Linked DNA regions of Homo sapiens: all the other regions are linked to region 1. Evidence: promoter capture Hi-C in human tissues and cell types (Jung and others, 2019). All regions are on one chromosome and are shown on one strand. The core of a region is centred on a gene start or on the middle of the fragment in contact, and the rest is flanking DNA. Distances in the headings are between cores, read along the strand shown. Region 1 holds the start of TIGD3 (tigger transposable element derived 3). Region 2 holds the start of CDC42BPG (CDC42 binding protein kinase gamma). Region 3 overlaps MAJIN (membrane anchored junction protein). Region 4 has its middle 2.6 kb from the start of MAJIN.

Evidence for each region. The method cuts DNA at HindIII sites, captures the fragments that hold promoters and counts their contacts. A contact is called where the count stands out against the background at its distance.
Region 2: the fragment with the promoter of CDC42BPG here is called in contact with the fragment with the promoter of TIGD3 in region 1 in 1 of the 25 tissues and cell types used here (pancreas).
Region 3: a fragment that was not itself captured here is called in contact with the fragment with the promoter of TIGD3 in region 1 in 1 of the 25 tissues and cell types used here (dorsolateral prefrontal cortex).
Region 4: a contact is called between a fragment that was not itself captured here and the fragment with the promoter of TIGD3 in region 1, in 1 of the 25 tissues and cell types used here (heart right ventricle).

What each region holds. Positions count from the first base shown.
Region 1 is chr11:65,353,358-65,356,255 of GRCh38, reverse strand. It overlaps TIGD3 (tigger transposable element derived 3), which reads right to left and starts at 1,505. Exons shown (of 2, transcript NM_145719.3): 1 at 1,299-1,505; 2 at 1-463. The coding sequence starts at 447. DPF2 (double PHD fingers 2) reads right to left here. Exons shown (of 11, transcript NM_006268.5): 11 at 1,994-2,898. RefSeq lists silencers at 798-987, 1,048-1,217, 1,228-1,287, 1,308-1,627, 1,718-1,777. The HindIII fragment of the contact is 4,951 bases long and covers 1-2,898 here.
Region 2 is chr11:64,843,117-64,846,014 of GRCh38, reverse strand. It overlaps CDC42BPG (CDC42 binding protein kinase gamma), which reads left to right and starts at 1,362. Exons shown (of 37, transcript NM_017525.3): 1 at 1,362-1,605. The coding sequence starts at 1,446. RefSeq lists silencers at 1,183-1,532, 1,543-1,592, 1,623-1,672 and enhancers at 1,887-2,699, 2,724-2,898. The HindIII fragment of the contact is 4,484 bases long and covers 1-1,995 here.
Region 3 is chr11:64,952,080-64,954,977 of GRCh38, reverse strand. MAJIN (membrane anchored junction protein) reads left to right here. Exons shown (of 11, transcript NM_001037225.3): 4 at 176-221. Among named protein-coding and RNA genes, the nearest start is that of GPHA2, 18 kb to the right of the region's middle. The HindIII fragment of the contact is 9,200 bases long and covers 1-2,898 here.
Region 4 is chr11:64,973,303-64,976,200 of GRCh38, reverse strand. No RefSeq gene overlaps it. Among named protein-coding and RNA genes, the nearest start is that of MAJIN, 2.6 kb to the right of the region's middle. The HindIII fragment of the contact is 2,434 bases long and covers 256-2,689 here.

The DNA of each region.
Region 1 (2,898 bases), core at 256-2,755:
TGGCTCAGGGGGGAATGAAGGCGCAAGAACATGGCGGGCCCCAAAGCCGACGTTGTTTCGGCGTTTCCAGCGGACCAGCCAGCCGATGCTGGGCACGAAGTCCTGGCCCATGATATCGGCCAGCTCCTTGGCTTTGTGGAGCAGCATGGGCCCCGTCACGTCCCAGGCCTTGGCCCGGGCAATGTGGTACCAGCAGAGCAGAGCCTCGTCGATCCCGCTGTACTTGGACTCCCGCTTGCGCTTGCGCTCTCGGTTGGCTGTGCCGCTGCACCAGTCCGCCAGCAGCTTCTCCTTATTCTTGCAGATGCGCGAGATCTGGGGCTGGGAAACCTGGAAGCGCCGGGCCACCTCCGACTGGGACATCTTGGACTCATCCAGGAGTTCCAGCACCTGGATCTTCTCGGCCAGGGACAGGGCGTGAAGCTTCTTCTTGCTGCTCAGCTCCATGGCCTCTCCGGGGCACCTGTGCGGGGAGGAAAGATTGAGCGGGTAGAGTAATCTGAGGCCGGAAGAGCTAGGAAAGGAGCGCAGGAGGGAAAAGAGATTAGATGAGGACTTGCGCAGGCACCGGGTGAGACTGGACCCGCTGAAAGAGGAAGTGGCTAGGCCGAGTGGAAGCCGGCTGGCCCCGTCCCCAGGATGCCAGGGCAGAGCTGGGGAGGGGGCGTCTCTCCACTCAGAAGGACAGGGGAGTCTGGGCTGGGGTCTGGCCTCACTCGGGAAGAAGGATGAAAAGTGCAGGGGACAGCTGCAGAGATAACAAAGGCATACGGACGGGGGAGGGCCTGGGACTGGGGCCGAGGGGGCAGGTGTGGGGCTACGGGGCTGCGGGGGAGGAGCCCCCGGGAGGGAGTGGGAGGCGGCTTGGGCTGGATTCAGATGACGCCGCTGGGGGGTGGGAGGTGGGTGGATGCACACAGAGTTGAGGTGACAGGTGTACAGACGACAAAGGGGACAGAGGGTGTCTGAAGGAGCGAGGCTAATTTGGTGCCGGGTCCTGAGAGGGAGGCTAGGCGACGGTCAGTCCTGAGGGGAGCGAGAGGGCAGGGCCGAGGGCGCAGGTGCACGAGCGACAAAGGGCGGGAGGCCTGAGGAGGCTGCGGGCAGCGGAGGGGCGGGGTGTCCCCGCGGGGAGGGTGGTGGCCTGGGAGGGTCCCAGGGCGCGGGAACGAACGCCCGGACCCAGGCAGGCCGGCAGCCGGACTCCGTGCCCTGGCCGGTCACTCCCCCTCGACCCGGAGTATGTCGGCGGGGCGGCCCCAGGCGCCCGCCCGCCCGGCCTCCCGCTCCGCACCCACCTCAGGCGCTGGTCCCGCGGCTCCAGCCCCTGCCCCCAGCCCGGCTCCCGAGCCCCTGTCCGGGCGGCGACAGCAGAACAGGGGAGGGATGGGCGCCACGACCCCGAGGGCAGAGCGGACCGAGGGCCTGCGCGGACGGCGGGCGGGCGGGCGCGCGCACAGCAGAGTCCCGTGCGCGCCGCCCGCGCCGGGCTCTCTCCCGGCTGCGAAGTCCGCGGTGCGGCCCCTCTGCACCCACCCGCCGCAGCCCCGCCCCGGCCCAAGCAGATTGGTCCTCAGTGGCGCCCCGTCCCTCCCCCGGCTAAGTTTCATTGGACGTTGCGGAAGTGGCGGTTCGTCGAGCCCCTCTGGGGGCGGGGCTTCTAGCGCGGAGGGGCGGGAGGCGGAGCCAGGAACCAGCAGGACTCCCCTGGGCGCCTCCAGCAGCCGCCGACCCCGAGGGCCCGACGAGCCCTGTAGGTGGTGTGGTGACCGCCGAGCTGACTTGGCGTCCCAAAGCCTCCCTGGCCGTGACCCTAGACCGCATCGGCTTCTTCGTCTACCAAGCAGGGCTAACAGCCCTCACGGAATTGTTTTGGGAAAACGATGAAAGGAGAAAATGGATGCAAGCTTTAAGCCACACAAAAGCTGGTTACCATGGACAGCGCTGGCTCGAGTCTGTCGGCCACGGAAACACTGCATGCTTGGGCCAGTAATGATTTAGGACGAGTATTTTATTAGATTTGGTACTTTACAAGATTCAAGTTCTTAAACTCAAGATCTGGCATCGTTCCCTTCCCTGCTAACCTTCAGTCCCGAATTAAACGCAGACGTCTTGACCCGCAGCCCAGCTGCTCTCCAGCCTCGCTGCTCCCTCCGCTCACAGCTCCGCATCCTCTGCCTTCCTCACAGGCTTCCGTCCGCACCCCCGTCCTACCGGCTGACACTGTCCAACTCTCCAAGACCCATCTCAAATCCTACCTCCCGCAAACCCTTCCTAAATTTCCTCACCTAGGCCTGCTACAGCGTTCTTATTTTCCACATTTCTTTTCTGGCTCTCGGACTACTCAGCTGCCAAAGCGCATCCATTGCTGTACTCCCTCTCTGCCTGGCCTACTTCAGTGGAAAAGCATGAGGACGGGCTGCGCTCTGCTCCTCACACAATCCCCAGCCCAGAGCACCCTGCTTATTTATTGAACATAACAGTGCAGGCCGGCCTAGGCTTCCCATAGGCAAGGATGACTTTCAGAATGTTCTAGAAAAAAGGATACTTCAGGGGGCCCATAACTGCTTGATTCAAATCTTTCCTTTAAAAACATAAAAACAACAGTTGGACTTCTAAAACACACACTGAAGACATACGCGCTGCCACGTAAGCTCTCCACATGTTCACTTTGCCTTCAGGGAAACTGTGTGCACATCAACGTGCCCTGGGAAAGGCTGCAGGGCTGCACTGCGGGCAGTTCAGATCCTAGAGCACTTGCTCTGGCCTGGGAGCGCTGCAGGCAACTGAAGCCACACAGACCCTGCTCCTGCAAGAACTTTTGTGTGTGTCCCATGGTGATGTCATTAGTTTGCTTATTAATTATATTTATATAAACTTCTGGTCCTGTTTTAAATG
Region 2 (2,898 bases), core at 113-2,612, 510 kb after region 1:
TCTCAGCTATTCGGGAGGCTGAGGTGGGAGGATCACTTGAACCCAGGAGGTTGAGGCTGTGGTGAGCTACGATTGCACCACTGCACTCCAGCCTAGGGGACAGAGTGAGACCCTGTCTCAAAAAAGAGAAAGAAGTGTTGTCTAGGCCGGGTGTAGTTGCCCATGTCTGTAATCCCAGAACTCCGGGAGGCCAAGGTGGGAGGATTACCTGAGCCCAGGAGTTCGAGACCAGCCTGGTCAACATAACAATAACCCTTGACTCCAAAAAGTAAAATAAAAAATCAGCTGGGTGTGGTGGCATCTGCCTGTAATCCCAGCTACTCAAGAGGCTGAGGCAGGAGCCTAAGAGGTCAAGGCTGCAGTGAGTTATGATTGCATCACTGCACTCCAGCATGGGTGACAGAGAGACCCTGTCTCAAAAAAAAAAAAAAAAAAGTGTTGTCTGAAGCCACCAATATGTCCCACCCTTTGATCTCTCCTCATGGTGCCTGGTCCATCCCAGCTGGACAGAAATCAGAAATACCACTGGACAGAGCCAGCCCCTCCCCTCCCCAACCTCCTCCAGCCTATCTCAGACCTCTCCTTGCCCTTCACGTTCCAGGTCAGACCTCAGGCCCTGCTCCTACTGAAGCTTAAAACGCCTGTGGTGTTGGTACCAGCCCAGCTCCACCTCCACCCCAGGGTCTAACTTAAGAGCCACCTTGTCCTCAGCCCCTCAATTCGCCTTCCTCCTTCCCAAGCCTCAGTGTGTCCATCTGCCAAATGGGCGTGACCATCCCTACCCCAACTTCCTGTCTCCCACATCAACTCTAATGATACAATCAAAGTAAGATTCAGAAACTTTTTTTTGGGCGGGGGCGGGGGGGCGATGGGTGCCAAGCGCGGGCAAACCATGGAGAGAGCGAACTACAATTCCCATCCGGCTCCGGGGCCGCGGGCGTCCCTAGCCCCTCTCTCTTAGCCAAGGGCAAGGCGGCTGCGACCCAGGGGGCGAGAGAAGTTGCAGTGCTCCGCGCCTCCTGGGTCAGGGCCCAGGGAGGGCCCAGGTAAGTCTGGGTCTGGGGCCGCGCGGGGATCTGGGGAGTCTTTCCGACCCCGCAGAACCCCACCGCGCCCCGCGCAGAAGTCAGTTGTTCTCCCCGGCCCGCCCCCGCACTTCCTGGCCGGGAGTTGGGCCCGCCCCCGCGCGCCTCCGCCCCCACCTTCACCTCTAGCCGCGGCTCCCATTGGCCGGCGCGCACCTGCCCGTCCGTCGGGGGGCGGGGCGCGGCGCCCAGGTGAGGGCGCGCTGGCGGCGGCGGAGGAAGGTGACAGCGGGGAGGGCGGGAGAGGGGCGGGGGAGGACGCGCGGACAGAGCCTCAGACGGTTGGGCGGACGGACGGCCCGACAGGCGGGCATGCGGGCGGCCAGACTGTAGCCGAGCAGCGAGGCTCCGGCCGCAGCCATGGAGCGGCGGCTGCGCGCGCTGGAGCAGCTGGCGCGGGGCGAGGCCGGCGGCTGCCCGGGGCTCGACGGCCTCCTAGATCTGCTGCTGGCGCTGCACCACGAGCTCAGCAGCGGCCCCCTACGGCGGGAGCGCAGCGTGGCGCAGTTCCTGAGCTGGGGTGAGTGGCGGGGCGGCACGGAGCGGGGGCGGGCCTAGGGATATCGCGCCGAGACCCCCGCACCCGCAGACTTTCCCGCAGGGACCCGCACCCCCACGGGCTTCCCTCGCAGACTCCCTGCAGTGGCCCTGACGCGTACCACCGGACCCCCGCGGCCCGCACACTCGCCTGCACACCTCACCCTCACTCCAATTCTCACACACGCTCTCTCCCTCTCACAGACCCCGACACATGCACACACATACCAACTTGTGCTCAGGTATCGACCGCAGACGCATGTACCCAGTGCACCGCCTAGAGTCCCTTACAGATTTCCTTGCTTACAGGCCACACCTGACGCAGGACACACACAGACCCTCATGCATGTCACCCACTGATACACGGGCTCTGTTTCTCCTTCCTCTCGGATGCATTGAGACACACAACTCATGGAGAGACCCAGGGAGCGCTGCAGACCACCCCGACCGCATTGGCACTGCAAAACACACAGATCTGTAGGTATCGCACACTTGCAGACCTTCCCCCCACCAACACACACACCCCCAGCTCCCTGGGTACAAGACCACTGCAGCCTGGACTCAGGAACCGATCTCCAACCCTTGGCCTGTGCAGGCTGCTGGCCAAGCTCCTTGGGGGCTGTGGCGCCGGGGCCGGGGAGGGGGGCCTAGCTGGAGATGGGTCTGTACCTTTCCTGGTAGACTCATCTGAGTCATTGGGAGTGGCTGGCCCGGGGTGACCCTGAACCCACTGTGGGCACTGGCGCCAGCTGGAGGGTTCCCTGGTCACACCCTGCCGGGCCATGGGGAAAAGGCACGGGGGCCTGGCCAGGGCGGGGTGAGGCAGGTGTTTGCCCAGTGGGCAACTAGCGTTCCTGGCACTCCTGAGCTCTGGGAAGGCACAAGGCCTGGGGTAGAGGGGGAGGCTGCCACCTAGATGTGCCAGGGAGTTGTCCCCTAGCCCCAACCCTTCCATCCAGGGCGAGGCAGTCAGAGGCCCCTGCCTCTGTGCCTGTCTCCCTGGTATGCCTCCGTGCTATGCCTGTCTGCCTGTGTTGTTGTCACCCCCCCCATGACACCCACACACGTGTGTGTGTTTGCACACACATGTGTGCTCCTCCCTGACTGCCTCCAGCACCTCTGCCTGGGACCCCGGCATGGGGGCCCTCTGTTGACAATCTCCCAAGGTAACTCAAAGGGCTGTGACTCATTCCTCTCCTGCTTGTCTCTACTTGTCCCTGCTCCTGCCCGGAGCCCCCATGCCCTGTGGGAGGCCAGAGGATTAGGCAGCCTGTCC
Region 3 (2,898 bases), core at 161-2,660, 400 kb after region 1:
GACCACGCCACCTAGGTGATCACTTCTTCCCCATGAGCACTGGGTCAGCTTACACAGTTTTACTTATGTCATGTTTCTTTAGCTCAGTGGAAGTGTTATTTTTGCCCTAGTAGAGTCTACTCTCTCCAGAGCTTTCCTTCATGTCTTACTTGTCTCTTGTCTGTTTACCTTCTAGAGGAGAAGAGATAGAAAATAAGGAAGTCATCACCCAGGAGCTGGAGGTAGGGAAAGAAGCATACGACTTCTGGAAAAGTTACTCTTTAAGGATGCATCCACATTCAGGTTTTAATTATTTCCTACAAACTGAGTCACAACCTCCACTTGATAACTTGGCTTCCTCCTGCTACATCTCCTTTGCAAAGGAACTTTATGTTTTTCCATGGGAATTTAAAGCCTGTATTCTTTCTCAGTTTTCCTAGTTGAAATGTCAGCACCTTTGAGGCTGAGAGCTTTTTGTTTTCACCAGTTTCCAGCCTTGGGCAGCTCTCTTTTGTTGCAGCTGGCATAGAGAAAGATTCCGGAGGACTGCCTCCTTCCAGGGCTCTGGGAAACCTCACCATCCCAACCACTGCCTGGTACTTGACGTTCAGGAAACTCGACTGTAAATACACAGACAAGGCTGCTGTGTCTTCATTTAAATTGGCAACATTTGCAATTGCCTTATTCCGACTTCATTTTCATTCCTTTCTACCCGGTTCCTCTAGCTTTAGGTTTTCCTACAGAAGAAGACTGAGCAGGTGATCAACTTTACAAATTGGTGGAAGCAATGGACAAGGAGTTAGAGTTCTGGGGGTTGGCCCTGGATTCCAGTCCTGGCATAGCCACCACTTAGCTGTGTGACCGTTGGCAAATCATATATCAACTTGGATCTTAATTGCCTCATTTGGAAAATGAGAGGTCTAAACTAGCTTTTCCTCTTCTGACTTCACAATTCGGTAATTTGTGACTATTGTGATTTCTTAAGACATATGCCTCCACATTTCAAAGCAATTAAATACACTTAAACACAAAACTCTGTGAAACCAAAACTGAGTCATACCCTTAAGAAGGTACCTCTTTGGCTAAGTGTTAAAAGATACATTAGGATCTTGCAGGACCCTCAAGGATATCATTATGAATAAGTTATTTTAACATAGGACCAAGAAAATGTTCTACCTGGTTTTTTGTTTGTTTGTTTGTTTGTTTTTTGAGATGGAGTTTCGCTCTGTCACCAGGCTGGAGTGCAGTGGCACGATTTTGGCTCACTGCAACCTCCATCTCCCAAGTTCCAGCGATTCTCCTGCCTCAGCCTCCCAAGCAGCTGGGACTACCGATGTGCACCACCACGCCCAGCTAATTTTTGTATTTTTAGTAGAGACGGGGTTTCATCATGTTGGCCAGGATGGTCTCGATCTCTTGACCTCGTGATCCACCAGCCTCGGCCTCCCAAAGTGTTGGGATTACAGGTGTGAGCCACTGCACCCGGCCATTCTACCTATTTTAATTATGAGCAGAGCAGGCTTTATTTCACTTTGCTTCAGTTAACCTGAGCAGTGAAAAGCTCACGGAAGCATAACAGAGAGGAGGGAACACAGACTTTAGAGCCAGTCAAACCTGGATTTGAAGTCTCCATACTAGGATAGTGTCTAGCTTCTAATTATAATAGCTAATATTTATTGAGTAATTACTATGAGAAGTGTTCTGCCATTCACAGTTTGACTTCGGGCAAAGTACCTACCCTCCCTGAGTCTGTTTCCTTACCTGTCAAATGAGGTTAATAAAGAAGGCCTGTTTCAAGACTGAGGATTAGAAATAGATGTCTGCAATGCCTGCCACACAGTAGCTCAATAATTAGTAGCTCGAGAGTATTTACATTCAACGTATGTCATATTTCCAAGGTGCATTTGATATGCATATGCATCTTTCTCTTATGCTCACTAGTTTGGGGTCAGATGTTATCATTCTCTTTTCTTCATTTAGAAAACACTTACTGAGGCTGGGCGCTGTGGCTCACACCTTTAATCCCAGCACTTTGGGAGGCCGAGGCAGGTGGATCACCTGAGGTCAGGAGTTTAAGACCAGACTGGCCAACATGGCGAAACCCCGTCTCTACTAAAAATACAAAAATTAGCTGGGTGTGGTGGCACGTACCTGTAGTCCAAGCTACTCAGGAGGCTGAGGCAGGAGAATTGCTTGAACCTGGGAGGCGGAGGTTGCAGTGAGCCGAGATCGCACCACTGCACTCCAGCCTGGGCAACAGAGTGAGACTCCATCTCAAAAACAAAAAAAGAAAACATTTACTGAGAAGCAGGCTAGCCTAGGGGTTAAGACTAGGAGCTCTGGAACCCTGCTGCCTTGGTTCAGATCTTGGCCCTGCTATTTCTAGTTATGTAACCTAGACTACATTTTTTCACCTCTCTTTGTCTGTTTCCCCGTCTGTAAAATGGGAATAACAGAATTGCCTCACAGGGTTTTTGTGAGAGTTAAATTAATTAATATGTATAAAAACACAGCCGGGCTCTGTGGCTCACGCCTGTAATCCCAGCACTTTGGGAGGTCAAGGCGGGTGGATCACCTGAGGTCAGGAGTTTGTGACCAGCCTGGCCAACATAGTGAAACCCCATCTCTACCAAAAATACAAAAGTTAGCCAGGTGTGGTGGCAGGCACCTGTAATCCCAGCTACTTGGGAGGCTGAGGCAGGAGAATCGCTTGAACCCTGGAGGCAGAGGTTGCAGTGAGCGGAGACCAAGCCATTGCACTCCAGACTCCAGCCTGGGCAAGAAGAACAAAACTTCATCTCAAAAAAAAAGGCCGGGCGTGGTCGCTCATGCCTGTAATCCTAGCACTTTGGGAGGCCAAGGTGGGCAGATTGCCTGAGCTCAGGGATTTGAGACCTGCCTGGACAACATGGCGAAACC
Region 4 (2,898 bases), core at 223-2,722, 380 kb after region 1:
TGCTTGAACCCAGGAGGCAGAGGTTGCAGTGAGTCGAGATTGTACCACTGCTCTCCAGCCTGGGCAACAGCGAGACTCCATCTCAAATAAATAAATAAATAGCCCAGGCACAGTGGCTCACGCTTGTAATCCCAGCACTTTGGGAGGCCGAGGTGGGTGGATCACCAAAGGTCAGGAGTTAAAGACCAGCCTGGCCAACACGGCAAAACCCCATCTCTACTAAAAATACAAAAAAAATTAGATAGGCCTGGTGGTGGGTACCTGTAATCTCAGCTACTTGGGAGGCTGAGGCAGGAGAGTTGCTTGAACCCAGGAGGCAGAGGGTGCAGTGAGCCGAGATCGTGCCATTGCACTCCAGCCTGGGCGACACTGGAACGACACTCTGTCTCAAAAATAAATAAATTAATTAAAATAAATAAAGGGACCAGGAGAGGGTAAAGTAATCCTGCCTCCAAGTCAAAGGAGTGGGACAGTAGTCAAGACCAAGGACATCCCTTGAAGGGTCAGGTGGTCAGATGGTTGTGATAAAGCACAGGATTCATGGTCCCTTGAGAGTGTCCCCGCCAGAGCTTGATTCTCAGAAGCACTTGAACTATACCCACAGCCACATGTAAAGAATGTTTCATCCAAAGTTTATCTGAGTATGGTCCCTTCTACCAGCAGCAGCAGCACCTGGGAACTTACTTGTTCAAAAGGCAAATTCTCAGACCCCCAGATCTACTAAATCAGAAACTTGGGGGCTCGGTCCAGCAATCTACAAGCCCTCTAGGTAGTTCTGATGCATGCCCACGTTTGAGAACTAATACTGGTGTAATCTGACAGGACTCCAGAGCTGGATTGCCCAGTAAACTTCCTTCATTTGAAAATTCATCAACATTCATCAAACATGGGTTAGCACCTTCTATGTGCTAGATCCCTTGTCAAGCCACATAAGAAGCCCAAAGTGGCCGGGTGCGGTGCCTCACACCTGTAATCCCACTACTTCAGGAGGCCAAGGCGGGCAGATCACGAGGTCAGGAGATCGAGACCATCCTGGCTAACACGGTGAAACCCCGTCTCTACTAAAAATACAAAAAATTAGCCAGGTGTCGTGGTGGATGCCTGTAGTCCCAGCTACTCAGGAGGCTGAGGCAGGAGAATGGCGTGAACCCGGGAGGCAGAGCTTGCAGTGAGCCGTGATCGCACCGCTGCACTCCAGCCTGGGCGACAGAGGGAGACTCCGTCTCAAAAAAAAAAAAAAAAAAAAAAAGCCCAAAGTGGTGTAAATTGCAGTTCCCACCCTCCAAGCAGACTGGCCAGTCAATACAAGGAAAGGCAAAAAAAAAAAAGGGACCTGATCTTCTGGCTAGGGGGATTACAGAGGGCTTCTCAGAGGAGGTGGCATTTGGGCTGGGCCTTGAAGGATAAGTAAGAATAAGCAGGCAGAAAATGAAAATGAAAATGAAAATGAAGAAGCCAGGTTCCAGGAACTTTTTTTTTGCGGGGGGACTCGATGTGTCCCCCAGGCCAGACTGCAGTGGCATGATCACAGCTCACTGCAGCCTTGGACCCCTGGGCTCAAGCAATCCTCCCCCTCAGCCTCCTGAGTAACTGGGAATACAGGCATGCACTTCTATGTCTGGCTATTTTTTTTATTTTTTTGTGGAGATGGAGTCTTACTATGTTGCCCAGGCGAGTCTTGAACTCCTGGCCTCAAGAGATCCTCCTGTCTCCCAACGTGTTGGGATTACAGGTGTGAACCATCACGCCTGGCCTCAGGAACATATTTCTGAGACCAAAATCCAACTTTTAAGAGCATCTTATTGCTGTAGGGATAAATTCAAGTACCTCAAGTACCTCAGCACAAGCTTCTTCGTAGTCTAGCCCCTGTGTCTCCCCTCAACCATATCTCCTGCCACTCCACACCTGTTTCTTTCTTTTTCTTTTCTTTCTTTCTTTCTTTTTTTTTTTTTTTTTTTGAGATGAAGTTTCACATTTTTTGCCCGGGCTGGAGTGCAATGGTGCAGTCTCAGCTCACTGCAACCTCCACCCCCCGATTTCAAGTGATTCTCCTGCCTCAGCCTCCAAGTAGCTGGGATTAAGGTGCATGCCACCTTGCCTGGCTGATTTTGTGGTGTGTTTTTTGTTTGTTTTAGTAGAGACAGGGTCTCACCATGTTGGCCAGGCTGGTCTCAAACTCCTGACCTCAGGTGATCTGCCCGCCTCCGCCTCCCAAAGTGCTGGGATTACAGGTGTGAGCCACTGCACACGGCCACCTGTTTCTTATAGTTAAGTAACACTGAACTTCTTGGAGACAGACACACACACAGCATGCTATTTTTTGTTGCCAGGCTTTTGCCATGTGCTGGCTGGCTTGACAGATCTGGTATATGTGCTTTGAATTCTGTTGTCATCTGCGAGCGTTGCTGTTGAAATGTTCCAGTATGGCAGGCTAAGTCTGAATCCATACGAGTCTCTTTAGCACTGTAAATTGTTTCTGAGTTAGGGTATAGGTTTATTAATTCTCAAGAATCCCAAGGGCCCATAAAAAGGTGCTCAACGTTATTAGTCGTTAGGGAAATGCAAATTAAATCTATAACTAGATACCACTACACATCTATTAGGATGGCAAAAAATTTTTAACTGAAAATATCAAGTGCTGGCAAGGATGCAGAGCAATTCTCACACTCTGCTGACGGGAGTGCAGAATGGTACAGCCACTCTGGAAAACTGCTTCGCAGTTTCTTTCTTTCTTTTTTTTTTTTTGAGATGGAGCCTCACTCTGTAGCCCAGGCTGGAGTGCACTGGAGTGATCTCAGCTCACTGCAACCTCTGCCTCCCAGGTTCAAGCAATTCTCCTGCCTCAGCCTCCAGAGTAGCTGGGATTACAGGCACGTGGCCACCATGCCCAACTCTAAT